4 separate regions of the Homo sapiens genome follow, and all the other regions are linked to region 4. The links are contacts of gene promoters, found by promoter capture Hi-C in human tissues and cell types (Jung and others, 2019). All regions are on one chromosome and are shown on one strand. Each heading gives the region's core, a stretch centred on a gene start or on the middle of the fragment in contact. The rest is flanking DNA. Distances are from core to core; before and after follow the strand shown.

Evidence for each region. The method cuts DNA at HindIII sites, captures the fragments that hold promoters and counts their contacts. A contact is called where the count stands out against the background at its distance.
Region 1: a fragment that was not itself captured here is called in contact with the fragment with the promoter of RAPSN in region 4 in 2 of the 25 tissues and cell types used here (bladder and liver).
Region 2: a contact is called between a fragment that was not itself captured here and the fragment with the promoter of RAPSN in region 4, in 2 of the 25 tissues and cell types used here (dorsolateral prefrontal cortex and mesenchymal stem cells).
Region 3: the fragment with the promoter of PTPMT1 here is called in contact with the fragment with the promoter of RAPSN in region 4 in 1 of the 25 tissues and cell types used here (mesenchymal stem cells).

Annotation. Positions count from the first base shown.
Region 1 is chr11:47,516,764-47,519,805 of GRCh38, reverse strand. The region is part of intron 1 of CELF1 (CUGBP Elav-like family member 1); the gene reads left to right. Among named protein-coding and RNA genes, the nearest start is that of CELF1, 35 kb to the left of the region's middle. The HindIII fragment of the contact is 3,912 bases long and covers 1-3,042 here.
Region 2 is chr11:47,534,669-47,537,582 of GRCh38, reverse strand. The region is part of intron 1 of CELF1 (CUGBP Elav-like family member 1); the gene reads left to right. Among named protein-coding and RNA genes, the nearest start is that of CELF1, 17 kb to the left of the region's middle. The HindIII fragment of the contact is 4,129 bases long and covers 1-2,914 here.
Region 3 is chr11:47,564,193-47,567,147 of GRCh38, reverse strand. PTPMT1 (protein tyrosine phosphatase mitochondrial 1) reads right to left here and starts at 1,549. Exons shown (of 4, transcript NM_175732.3): 1 at 1,352-1,549; 2 at 1,162-1,242. The coding sequence starts at 1,525. It also overlaps a transcript of CELF1 not described here. RefSeq lists silencers at 1,038-1,117, 1,248-1,727 and enhancers at 1,037-1,537, 1,538-2,038. The HindIII fragment of the contact is 19,699 bases long and covers 1-2,955 here.
Region 4 is chr11:47,447,886-47,451,143 of GRCh38, reverse strand. RAPSN (receptor associated protein of the synapse) reads left to right here and starts at 2,008. Exons shown (of 8, transcript NM_005055.5): 1 at 2,008-2,371; 2 at 2,994-3,258. The coding sequence starts at 2,180. The HindIII fragment of the contact is 7,804 bases long and covers 1-3,258 here.

The sequences.
Region 1 (3,042 bases), core at 94-2,593, 69 kb before region 4:
CTAAAAGCTGCGCCTCCTGGGTTCATGCCATTCTCCTGCCTCAGCCTCCCGAGTAGCGGGGACTACAGGCGCCCACGACCACGCCCAGCTAATTTTTATTTTCAGTAGGGGTTTCACCGTGTTAGCCAGGATGGTCTCGATCTCCTGACCTTGTGATCCACCCGCCTTGGCCTCCCAAAGTGCAAGTGCTGGGATTATAGGCGTGAGCCACCACGCCCGGCGAGAAGCACCTTTAGGAGCACAATTGCAGAGTGATGAAAGCATGATAATTGAAGTACCTTATTTATTTATTTATTTATTTATTTATTTATTTATTTATTTATTTAGAGATGGAGTCTCGCTCTGTCACACAGGCTGGAGTGCAGTGGTGTGATCTCAGCTCACTGCAACCTGTGCCTCCCTGTTCAAGTGATTCTTCTGCCCCAGCCTCCCAAGTAACTGGGATTACAGGTTCCCGCCTCCACGCCGGGCTAATTTGTTTGTATTTGTAGTAGAGATGGGGTTTCACCCCGTTGGCCAGGCTGGTCTCGAACTCTGACCTCAAGTGATCCACCTGCCTCGGCCTCCCAAAATGCTGGGATTACAGGCCAGCCAAAGTAACTTTTTTTAAAAAGTGATAATAGAATAGAATAGAATTTGTCTTAGGGCTGTGCGTCCTTTAGGGTGAATCAAGCTTTGCTGAACATGTTCCCTGATTGGCTGAAGCAGAGGTACAAAATTTGCATTTTCTGGCCTATAACCTAACTGTCTCAGGAAGTGTCTCTACAGAAGTAGTTTCTGGTTTCTCTAGTTTTATAGAATTAAGAATTTAAGAACAGAAAGAAAATAAAGTTTCCTGCTTTTCAACAGAACAGGGCAAAGCTCCTGAAACAAGACCATATGGAAGCATCCCGCATGAGTGCCCGTGTGTTTGATGGTGAGGTTGGGGCAGATGGTAAAGGCAGGGTTCTTGGCTGCTTGGTCAAGGATTTTGGAGATGATAGAAGTTAGGTGGCTAGTGCTAAGGAAAGACTGTTGTATGTTGTGTGTATTGGGCCTGTCTGCCTAAGAGGTGGAGCAGCCTCACAGAGAGGAAGGAAATTGATGTGTTTGGTAGGGTAGAGGTGGTAAGATAAGAAAAGAGGCAGGGGAGATGCAGAGTTGGAATGATAAAGCTTGCAATTGCATCTAAACCTGCCCCTGAGATAAGGGAGAGAGAGACAAGATATTACAGTGTGAGAAATAAGATTCCAGTTCCCTGGTGTCTTCTGTTCTCTAGAGCCTTCAAGTAAGATACTGCAGGGACTGTAGGGTTTTTCTGTTTAAACTTGAAGCTCTTTTGATTCCTTTTTGAGATACAAGCCAAAAGCTGTATTTATAGAACTTGTTTTGACATATTATCTCACCCTGTCCCTTGCCTTCTTTACTGGAATCCAGCTAATGTTGCACTTTGCCTTGGCAGGAAAGGTTGATTGAAGAAAATGTATAGCTATACAGCTGAGTGATTGAAATAGCTTCAGACTTTGTAAATAGGCCATACATGATGAGGTCCCAGCTGCATGAACGTTATTTGAGTTGCTGGGGTCATTTAAAATGGTGTGATGTAATTATGATATACTGCTGGATCACCTGGACAATGGCAGTTTCCACACAGAAGTTTCAGGCAAAGCAGGAAAAAAATACAAAACCAAAATGCTGTTTTGGAAAAGAGTATGAGTTGAGGTTTTTCTTTACTTTGTGCTTTATAGTTCCACGAGTTTTCCTTTTTTTAAGTGGTAGGAATGGACTTATGGGTTGCAGGGGGAAGTGGACAAGGGGATACGGTGTCTGCAGGCTAGGTTGCCATGCTCCAAAAGCTCAAGTTTTCTTTAAAAAAATTTTCAGTAGGCCGGGCACAGTGGCTCGTGCCTGTAATCCTAGCACTTCAGGTCGATCACCTAAGGTCAGGAGTTCGAGACCAGCTTGGCCAACATGGTGAAACCCCATCTCTACTAAAAATACAAAAAAGTAGCTGGGTTTGGTGGCAGGTGCCTGTAATCCCAGCTGCTCGGGAGGCTGAGGCAGTAGAATTGCTTGAACCCGGGAGGCGGAGGTTGCAGTGAGCCAATATTGCGCCATTGTACTCTAGCCTGGGCAACAAGAGCATAACTTCGTCTCAAAAAAAAAAAAATTTCTGTAGAATAGGTAACGTGTTCACATGTAAACAATTCAACCACTGTTCCACCTCTACAACTACTGTTAGCAGTTATTTCTTTATCCATCCAGAGATACTCTGTTCATATACAAGCCATGTGTAATTCCTTTCTTATTATATGAATACGTCTTGATCAGTTAGCTGCCTTATTTTCTTTAATAGCTACATAGTGTTCTGTTGTATGGTTATACTGTATTTAATAGCCTTCAATTAATGGGCATATGTTTTCAGGTTTTGCTGATGTAAACAATGTTCTTATGAATGCCCCTTTGCATACTTTGTATACATCAGATACAAGATTATTTGTAAACTATATTTCTAGAACTGGGATTGCTGAATTCAAAGGGCATGTCTTTTTTTTTTTTTTTTTTTCTCTGTTTGTTTTTTTAGACAGGCTCTCTCTCAGTTGTCCAGGCTGGAGTGCAGTGGCATGATCACAGTTCACTGCAGCCCGACCTCCTGGGCTCAAGTGATTCTCCCGCCTCAGCTTCCCAAGTAACTGGGACTACAGGCACGTGCCACCACACCCAGCTAATTTTTGAATTTTTTTGTAGAGATAAGTCTCACTATATTGCCTGGGCTGGTCTGGAACTTGTGGGCTCAAGCAGTCCTCCCAAAGTGCTGAGATTATAAGTGTGAGCCACTGTGCTCAGCTCAGTTTTCAATATTGATGAGATACTATCCCTTTTTATATTTTGCAAGTGATATTATCCATTGAAAAATACTAGTGAGCTGGGCGTGGTGGCTCATGTCTGTAATCCCAGCACTTGGGGACACTGAGGCAAGTGGATCACCTGAGGTCAGGAGTTCAAAACCAGCCTGGCCAACATGATGAAACCTTGTCTCTACTAAAAAAATATAAAAATTAG
Region 2 (2,914 bases), core at 339-2,838, 87 kb before region 4:
CCATCAAAAGACATTATGGTTAAGGTTTGTACTGTAGGCCTGGTGTGGTGGCTCACGCCTGTAATCCCAGCACATTGGGAGACTGAGTCGGGTGGATCACGAGGTCAGGAGATCGAGACCATCCTGGACAACATGGTGAAACCCCGTCTCTACTAAAAATAACAGAAATTTGTTGAATGTGGTGGTGTGTGCCTATAGTCTCAGCTACTCAGGAGGCTGAGGCAGGAGAATTGCTTGAATCCAGGAGGTGGAGGCTGCAGTGAGCCAAGATGGCGCCACTGCACTCTAGCCTGGGCGACAGAGTGAGACTCTGTCCCAAAAAAAAAAAAAAAAAAAATTTGTATGGTAAAAACCTTGTGGAGCTCTGATCTTGAAACTTCGTAATTTTTATTGCCTGAACAGTCAGAAGGCTCCTAGACAACTCTGATTTTGGCTCAGTTTTCAGTAGCTCCAAAGAATAAGAAAAGGATAATCTGATATTGCTGGCAGTCTGCACTCTTGCCTTTCTGGGCCAAGACATGCTTTTCCAAATAAAATCAAGGAAATAGTAAACCACTAGTAAAAATGAATAAAGCATCCAAGAGTTTGCCTCCTGTCATGTCCTGTTTTCTCCTTTTTGTTTCTAGGCTGTTTGATATTAAACTCATGTGCCAAAACTATACTGTGGACTTGTCCTTCCTACTTCCCCTTTCAAGCTGATGGGAAATAATTATGGAAAGACATTATGTTTATTATATATTCATTGTTTTTATTGCGTGCTATTTCTGTTTAATAGTCTCTGCATACATTTACAAGTGCAATTTTTATTTTTTATTATTATTTTTTGAAATGGAGTCTCACTCTGTCACGCAGGCTGGAGTGCAGTGGTGTGTTCTCAGCTCTGCAGCCCCCGCTTCCCAGGTTCAAGTAACTGCCTCAGCCTTCTGAGTAGCTGGGATTACAGGTGTGCACCACCACGCCCAGGTAATTTTTGTATTTTTTTTAGTAGTGACGGGTTTTCGCCATGTTGGCTAGGCTGACCTCCAACTCCACCTGACCTCAGGTAATCTGCTCACCTTGGCCTCCCAAAGTGCTGAGATTACAGGCATGAGCCACCACACCCGGCCTACAAATGCAGTTTTTTAAAAAGCTTTGCAAACCTCTTTACTGAGCTAATTTGGGTTATAGATAGCATTGGGAAACTATCTATCAGTCTGTCTATCTATCTATCTATTTATTTATGACAATCTCGCCTTGTCGCCCACGATGGAGTACAGTGGTGCAATGTTGGCTCACTGCAACCTCCGCCTCCCGGGTTCAAGTAATTCTCGTGCCTCAGTCTCCAGAAGAGCTACTACAGGCCGTTGGCACCATGCCCAGCTAATTTTTCTATTTTTAGTAGAGATGAGATTTTGCCATGTTGGCTAGGCTGGTCTCAAACTCTTGGCCTCAAGTGATTCACCTGCCTCAGCCTCCCAAAGTGCTGGGATTGCAGGCTTGAGCCACCATGCTGGCCAGAAACTATTTAAAAACAAACTCTTGGGCTGGGTGCAGTGGCTCATGCCTATAATCCCAGCACCTTGGGAGGCTGAGGCGGGCGGATCACAAGGTCAGGAGATCAAGACCATCCTGGCTAACACAGTGAAACCCTGTCTGTACTAAAAACAGAAAAAATTAGCTGGGCACGGTGGCACACGCCTGTAATCCCAGCTACTTGGGAGGCTGAGGCAGGAGGCTCGCTTGAACCCAGGAGGTGGAGATTGCAGTGAGCCGAGATTGCACCACTGCACTTCAGCCTGGGCGACAGAGCAAGACCCTATCTCAAGAAAAAAACAAAAACAAAAAAACTTGTGGGCATGCTACAGGAAAGCTTAGGTGAGTAAATATAGCAAAACAAGACATGATTTATTTTTTTTTTTTTTTTGAGATGGGGTTTCGCTCTTGTTGCCCAGGCTGGAGTGCAGTGGTGCAACCTTGGCTCACTGCAACCTCCACCTCCCCGGGTTCAAGCGATTCTCCTGCCTCAGCCTCCTGAGTAGCTGGGATTACAGGCATGCCCCACCATGCCCGGCTAATTTTCTATTTTTAGTAGAGACGGAGTTTCTCCATGTTGGTCAGGCTGGTCTCGAACTCCTGAACTCAACTGATCCGCCTGCCTCGGCCTCCCAAAGTGCTGGGATTACAGGTGTGAGCCATCTCGCCCAGCCCAAGACATAATATGTTTGTGGAGTATCTTAATAACTATTGCCTACGGTAGTTAATGGTATATCTTATCTCCATAGAACCATTTTTTTTTTCTTTTGGTTTGTGAATTTGTTGTATGAATTGGTTCTGAGTTTGGTTTTCAACACATTTAAATGGAATTTATATTTAGGTTTCAGTAGTTATTAGTGTGAGGGATACTCTTGAAATTTGTGCCAGGTACTTTTCTGGCTCAAACTATTATGGATCAGGCGTAGGGTAGCTGAAGTTCTAGATTATTACTGTGAAATCAAGTGCTGTTTTTGTTAATGTTCATTTGTCTGGTATAAGTTTGCTCTGGGGCTAAGCTAGATCTATGGAAAGACTTAACCCTTTTCCAGAAAGCTTCCAACTTAGGGAAAAAAATTTTTTTTTTTCTAATTCTGACTGTTCCACTTCTGAAAAAAACAGATCCACAGATCAGACTTGTAAATGATCTGTTTTCTTAAGATATCTTCTAACAGAATGGGTCTCCAGGGAACTGAGTGACAACACACATTTAGCTGGGAGTGGCAGTTCATCTCCCTAAACGTAATTTAACATCACATTTATCTACACACTACAGTTTTGGAGGCATACTTGGAGATTGAACTTATACTTCTCTTGGCTTATTTTATTTTATTTTATTTATTTTTGAGATGGAGTCTCGCTCTGTCGCCTAGGCTGGAGTGCAGTGGTGCGATCTCTGCATACT
Region 3 (2,955 bases), core at 300-2,799, 120 kb before region 4:
TTACAGGTGTGAGAGCCACCACGCCTGGCCAAGTCACAAATATTTTCAAGGTTTCAAAAAAATCCTCAGGTTGAAATAATAGTATCTTCATCATGCTATATCAGTAAAACAAATGAGAAAGATAATTGTTTAGTGCTATTAGATGCCAAACGCTATAAAGATAGGGCAACATTAAAAAAAAATCAAATAGCTCAGATTGTAGATAACATCTTCTAATAACCATTGTGGAAGATTCCACAAACAGGCCAGTCACATTTAATGAAAGTTATGTTTTAGGCCTAAACTTTGTTATGAGAGAACTTTGGAGTTCCACCATGATTTCTAATATATGACTAAAAATTCCCCCAAATCAGAGCCAAATGAACTCTACAGTTTTCAATGGATAGTTTTATGAAAAATCTGGGGAGGGGAGAGTGTTAAGGGGGTGCTTTTCGTCTTACAGTTGGCAGGGCCTTCATCTGGAATCCCTAACACTGGGAATGCTGACCCATACTCAGAGCTCAAAGTATAGAAAGAATGAATGAAATCAGGAAGGCATGGGAAAGTTGCCTTTCAATTTTAGTTTCTGATTTTGGTTACCGAAATAAGAATACATTACATTTGTTCACAAAGGAGAAATCAGGCTTTGTCAACTTCCACTTTTTTTTTTTTTTTTTTTGAGACATTGTTTCACTCCTGTCGCCCAAGGCTGGGCTGGAATGCAATGGCGAGATGTCGGCTCACTGCAACCTCCACCTCCCGGGCTAAAGTGATTCTCCTGCCTTAGCCTCCCAAGTAGCTGGGAGTACAGGCGCACGCCACCACTCCCGGCTACTTTTTGTATTTTTGTAGGGACGGGGGCCTCGCCATGTTGCCCAGGCTGGTCAGGAACTCCTGGGCTCAAGTGATCTGCCCGCCTCCTCCTCCCGCCTCCCAAAGTGCTGGGATTACAGGCGTGAGTCCCCGCGCCCGGCCCAACTTGAACTTTTAAATAAACGCCTTTCACAGCTTCTAGCCTACCTCCAGGTGCCATTTAGAGGCACAGACCGGAGGCAAAGCAGCTTGAGACACCTGGCTCCGGTGCATGGTGACCTCCCCCACACTTCTCTAGCCGTCCCAGGCTCAGGGCGGTGGGCGAGGGGGAGCGGGCCCCCGAGCCTGCCCCTCGGCCCGGTCCCTCACCTGTGAAGAGTTGCACAGGAACCTCGTCTCGTACTCCTCGTTCATGGTGATCACCCCGCGCACGTTCTCGTCCTGTACCAGCTGCCGAGGCAAAGAGGTGGCTCAGCAAAGACGGTGGAGACCCCAGCGGCCCGACAGGGACGGAGCGGCGGGGACGGGGCAGGGGCCCGGGCTCCCCGGCCCGGCTCACCTGGCGCGTCAAGCTCCGCAACGGCAGCGCGCCCAGCAGCACGGTGGGGTCGATGCGGTGGTACCAGTCCCGGTGCGCCCGACCCGGCACCTTCCCGCGGAACAGGGTGTAGAGCAGCGTCGGGTAGAAGAGCACCCGCGCCAGGCCGGCCTCCAGCAGCGCGGTGGCCGCCATCCCGGCCCGGCGCAGCGGCGACCCGTCGGCCCCCGCGCTCGCGGTCCGGACCCGCGAGAAGAGCAGGCGGGTGCCGGGGCGGGGCTGCCAGCTGCACTAGGCCTCTCGCGGGCTCGCACCGGGTGACGGCGGGGACTGGCCTGGACTCTGGGGGACTGGCGGGACTCTGGAGGAGGGCCCGGCGGCCTCGGAGGAGGGACCGAGGTTTCCTGGGCGGGAAACTGGGACCCCGGCGAAGGGAGAGCGCGTCGCAGGCCAGACACGTGTGAGCCCTGTAGCGTGGGAAACTGAGGCCCCCGCCTGTGGCCGGTGACCTCCCTCCTCCGAGGGAGGGGGGTTGTGACCCCAGGTGAGAGGGGCAGGAAGGACCCCTGCGTGTGGAACTGTGACTCCGGCCGAGGGAGGAGGGGACACTCCCCCCAACCCTCGACCAGAGGAAGGGGGCAGTGACCCAGGTGCGGGTGTGACCCCGCCAAAGGGAAGACAAGACAAGGAGAGGCTGTGTGGCGGGGTAGCCCTGAAGAGGACAGTGGAAGGGCTTAGAGCTTTCAAACAGAGGAGCTACCTGGGTGAGGGCCTGATCCCAGGGTGAACAGGGGTCCTGGGTTGAGGTCGCCTTCCTCCTCCCCTCCCCTGTCCTAGGGCAGGGCTCCCTCCTTCATCTGACCAAACAGCAGTGTTTACATAGCAGGAAAAAATAGGAAAATATACATTATATTAATATATCCTTAAGAAAAATATTATGAAGAGCTCAAATATAAAACCTGCAACCTACAAAAAGGTAAGAAGAATGGTTGTAATGCCAGCTATTTACTTTTTGTTTGTTTGTTTTGAGACGGAGTCTCACTCTGTTGCCCAGGCTAGAGGGCAGTCGCAAGATCTCAGCTCACTGCAACCTCCGCCTCCCGGGTTCAAACGATTCTCCTGCCTCAGCCTCCTGAGTAGCTGGGATTACAGGTGCATGCCACCACACCCAGCTAACTTTTGTTTTTAGTAGAGACGAGGTTTCACCTTGTCAGCCAGGCTGGTCTCGAACCTAAGGTGATCCGCCCACCTCAGCCTCCCAAAGTGCTGGCATTACAGGCATGAGCCACTGCACCCGGCCCAAGCATCTGGTGGAGTTTTTGTTTTTTGTTTTTTGTTTTTGAGACAGAGTTTCACTATTGTCACCCAAGCTGCAGTGCAATGGCGTGATCTCAGCACACTGCAACCTCTGCCTCCCAGGTTCAAGCAATTCTCCTGCCTCAGCCTCCCGAGTAGCTGGGATTACAGGTACATGTCACCACGCCCAGCTAAGTTTTGTATTTTTAGTGAGATGGCTTCAACATGTTGACCAGGCTGGTCTCAAACTCCTGACCTCAGGTGATCCATCCCCCTGGCCTCCCAAAGTGCCAGGATTACAGGCATGAGCCACCGCGCCCGGCTTTCTT
Region 4 (3,258 bases), core at 759-3,258:
AAATACAAAAATTAGCCAGGTGTGGTGGTGCGCAGCTGTAATCCCAGCTACTCAGGAGGCTGAGGCAGGAGAATCACTTGAACCTGGGAGGTGAAGGTTGCAGTGAGCCAAGATGGCACCACCACACTCCAGCCTGGGTGACAGAGGGAAAGTGTCTCAAAAAAAAAAAAAAGTATTGTGGTCAGGCATGGTGGCTCACGCCTATAACCCCAATACTTCGGGAGGCTCTGAGGCAGGTGGATCAACTGAGGTCAGAAGTTCAAGACCAGCCTGACCAACATGGTGAAACCCCGTCTCTACTAAATACAAAAACTTAGCCAGGCGTGGTGGCATACACCTGTCATCCCAGCTACTTGGGAGGCTGAGGCAGGAGAATTGCTTGAACCCGGGAGGTAGAAGTCTCAGTGAGCTGAGATTGTGCCACTGCACTCCAGCCTATGCAACAAGAGCAAAACTCCGTCTCAAAAATAATTTTTAAAAATAAAAATTTATTGTTTATTTATTTTTTGAGACAAGGTCTTGCTCTGGTGCTCAGGCTGGAGTGCAGTGGCACAATCACGGCTCACTGAAACCTCCACCTCCAGGAGTTCAAGACCAGCCTGGGCAACATGGTGAAACCCATCTCTACAAAAACTAGACAGCTGTGGTCTCAGCTACCCAGGAGACTGAGGTGGGAGGGTCACTTGAGCCTAGGAGGTAGAGGTTGCAGTGAGCTGTGACTGCACCACTGCACTCCAGCCTAGGTGACAGAGTGAGACCCTGTCTCAAAAAAAAGGGGGGGGGGATACCAGTCTTAACTGGATGAGGTACAATGTGACTTCATTTTACCTTAATCACCCTTTAAAGACCCTGTCTCCAAAGACAGTCACCTTATGAGATACTGAGTGTTAGGACTTAAACATATGCGTTTGGTTGCGGGGGGACATGATTCAGTCATATCAAGGTGGGGAATGGAGTGGTGTAACTGCTGATGGGTGTGCGTCTCCTTTTTGGGGTGGTTAAAATGTTCTGGAATTAGTGGCAATTAATGTGCATCTCTGTGAATATACTAAAAACCACTGAATTGCCCAGCCAGAAAGGATAAACTTTTGCCCTGGGGCAGGAAGAAGGCTGGCATGCAGAGAGAGGAGAAAGGGGGGCTGGATGAGCTGGCCTGCTAGCGGGGGCCCCAATACTACATAAGACCTTGCCCTTCTCCACAGTATCTGGTGTTAAATCTCATTATGAGGACCCTTTCAGCCCGGGGTTGGGATTGGAAGTGAGACATTGAAACTTCAAGGGCTGGGTTCTGGCCCGGGTGGGGATTTGCCATGGAGCAAAATAGCCTCTTGCAGCACATGCGGGGTTTCCTGTGCCGGGCACTGTCCTAAGTCCTTCTCAACTCTTTCGTCATTGAGTTCTCATAGCAGTCCAGTGAGCCAGGTACCATTCCTCTCTTCAGTCCACGGTGCCAGGTCACTTGGCTAGGGTCCCACTGAGAGTTCGAAGGAAGCCAGGCTAGAGCTCAGGCCTCTCACCAGCTGGAGGTCTTTCCCAGACTCTCTAAGGTGAGAGTTGGTGAATGGTGTCAGCCTGGGCCTGGATGAGTGACCCACGGTGCTCAGTGAATTTCAGGAACAGAGCCAGGGGATGCTGCGGTCAGGGGTGTCTTGATGGGGAAGAAGCAGGGCTGGGCGCTCACCTGGCTTCCCCGGACCTGCAGGTCCAGCCTCGCTCTCCTTCCCCCGAGCACCTCTAGCCCAAGGCCTGCCCACTTGCTGGAGCTGGCCCCTTGGCAAGGCTGCTGGGAGGGCCCGTGCTGCCAGGGCGGTCAGGGTCAGTGTCAGAGGTGCCTAAGGGACGCCCAAGGGGGTGCCCAGGTGGCAAGGTGCCTGTATGCTCAGGGAAGCCACGTCCCAGCTCGCGGGTGGGTGCAGCAGAGGCCCACGTGACCTTGCTGCTGACATTCCTCAGAGGCCATGTGGCCCCAACTGGCAGCGACAGCTGCAGACGGGCTGAACCAGCTTTGTTCCCAGGGTGGCGCCTGCTCTCCATCCAGGCCCCATTCCGGCTCCCACCCGACGCTGCTTTTGTTCCCACGTTTCGGGGGGCAGCTGGCACTGTGATTCCTGCCCCATGAGTGCCTAGAGGCACGGAGCCACCAGGGATCACCCCACGTGGGACACAGGGCTTGGGGAGGATGGGGCAGGACCAGACCAAGCAGCAGATCGAGAAGGGGCTCCAGCTGTACCAGTCCAACCAGACAGAGAAGGCATTGCAGGTGTGGACAAAGGTGCTGGAGAAGAGCTCGGACCTCATGGGGCGCTTCCGCGTGCTGGGCTGCCTGGTCACAGCCCACTCGGAGATGGGCCGCTACAAGGAGATGCTGAAGGTGGGTGTACCCGGCCTGGGGGCGTTCGAGGGTCAGGCTGGGGCCGGATGTCTCCCAGGCTCCCCAGTCCCCTCTCGGCCTCCTCGGGCTCCCCTGTGTCCCACAGGCTGGCAGCCAGGGCCCGAGGCTCTGAATTTATATCTAAGGCCCTGGGTCTTAGATACTGAGTCTTGGCATCAGATTCAGGCCTGTGGCCTTGAACTGTGGTGCCCGAGTCTCTGAGACTGAGGTTCTCCAGCCTCAGGGTCGAGGGTTTGTGGGTCTCAAGCCCATTGTAGGTTTCAGCCTTCCTGTCTGGTGTTCTGTGTCTGAGCCTGGCGGGGTGTGGGCTCCAGGGTTGCGGCTGGGGGTGGGTGGGTGGTGGAGACTCCAGATCTGAGGCTTGGGATAGAAGGTGAAGGCTGCAAGCCTGAGCTTGGGAGGTGAGGCTGGGGTGTAGGGAAGGTAGCTGAGGCTGGCGGGTAGAAGCTCTGGGTCTGAAAAGAAGCTTTGGGATCTGCTGCTTTGGGTGTGAGGCTGGGGGGTGGGTGTGGGGCCTCCAGGTCTGAGCCTGCAGTGCAGGCTGGGGTCCAAGGCTCAGAGTCCAGGCTGAGCACCACCTGCCCACCGTCGCTGTGTGCAGTTCGCTGTGGTCCAGATCGACACGGCCCGGGAGCTGGAGGATGCCGACTTCCTCCTGGAGAGCTACCTGAACCTGGCACGCAGCAACGAGAAGCTGTGCGAGTTTCACAAGACCATCTCCTACTGCAAGACCTGCCTTGGGCTGCCTGGTACCAGGGCAGGTGCCCAGCTCGGAGGCCAGGTCAGCCTGAGCATGGGCAATGCCTTCCTGGGCCTCAGCGTCTTCCAGAAGGCCCTGGAGAGCTTCGAGAAGGCCCTGCGCTATG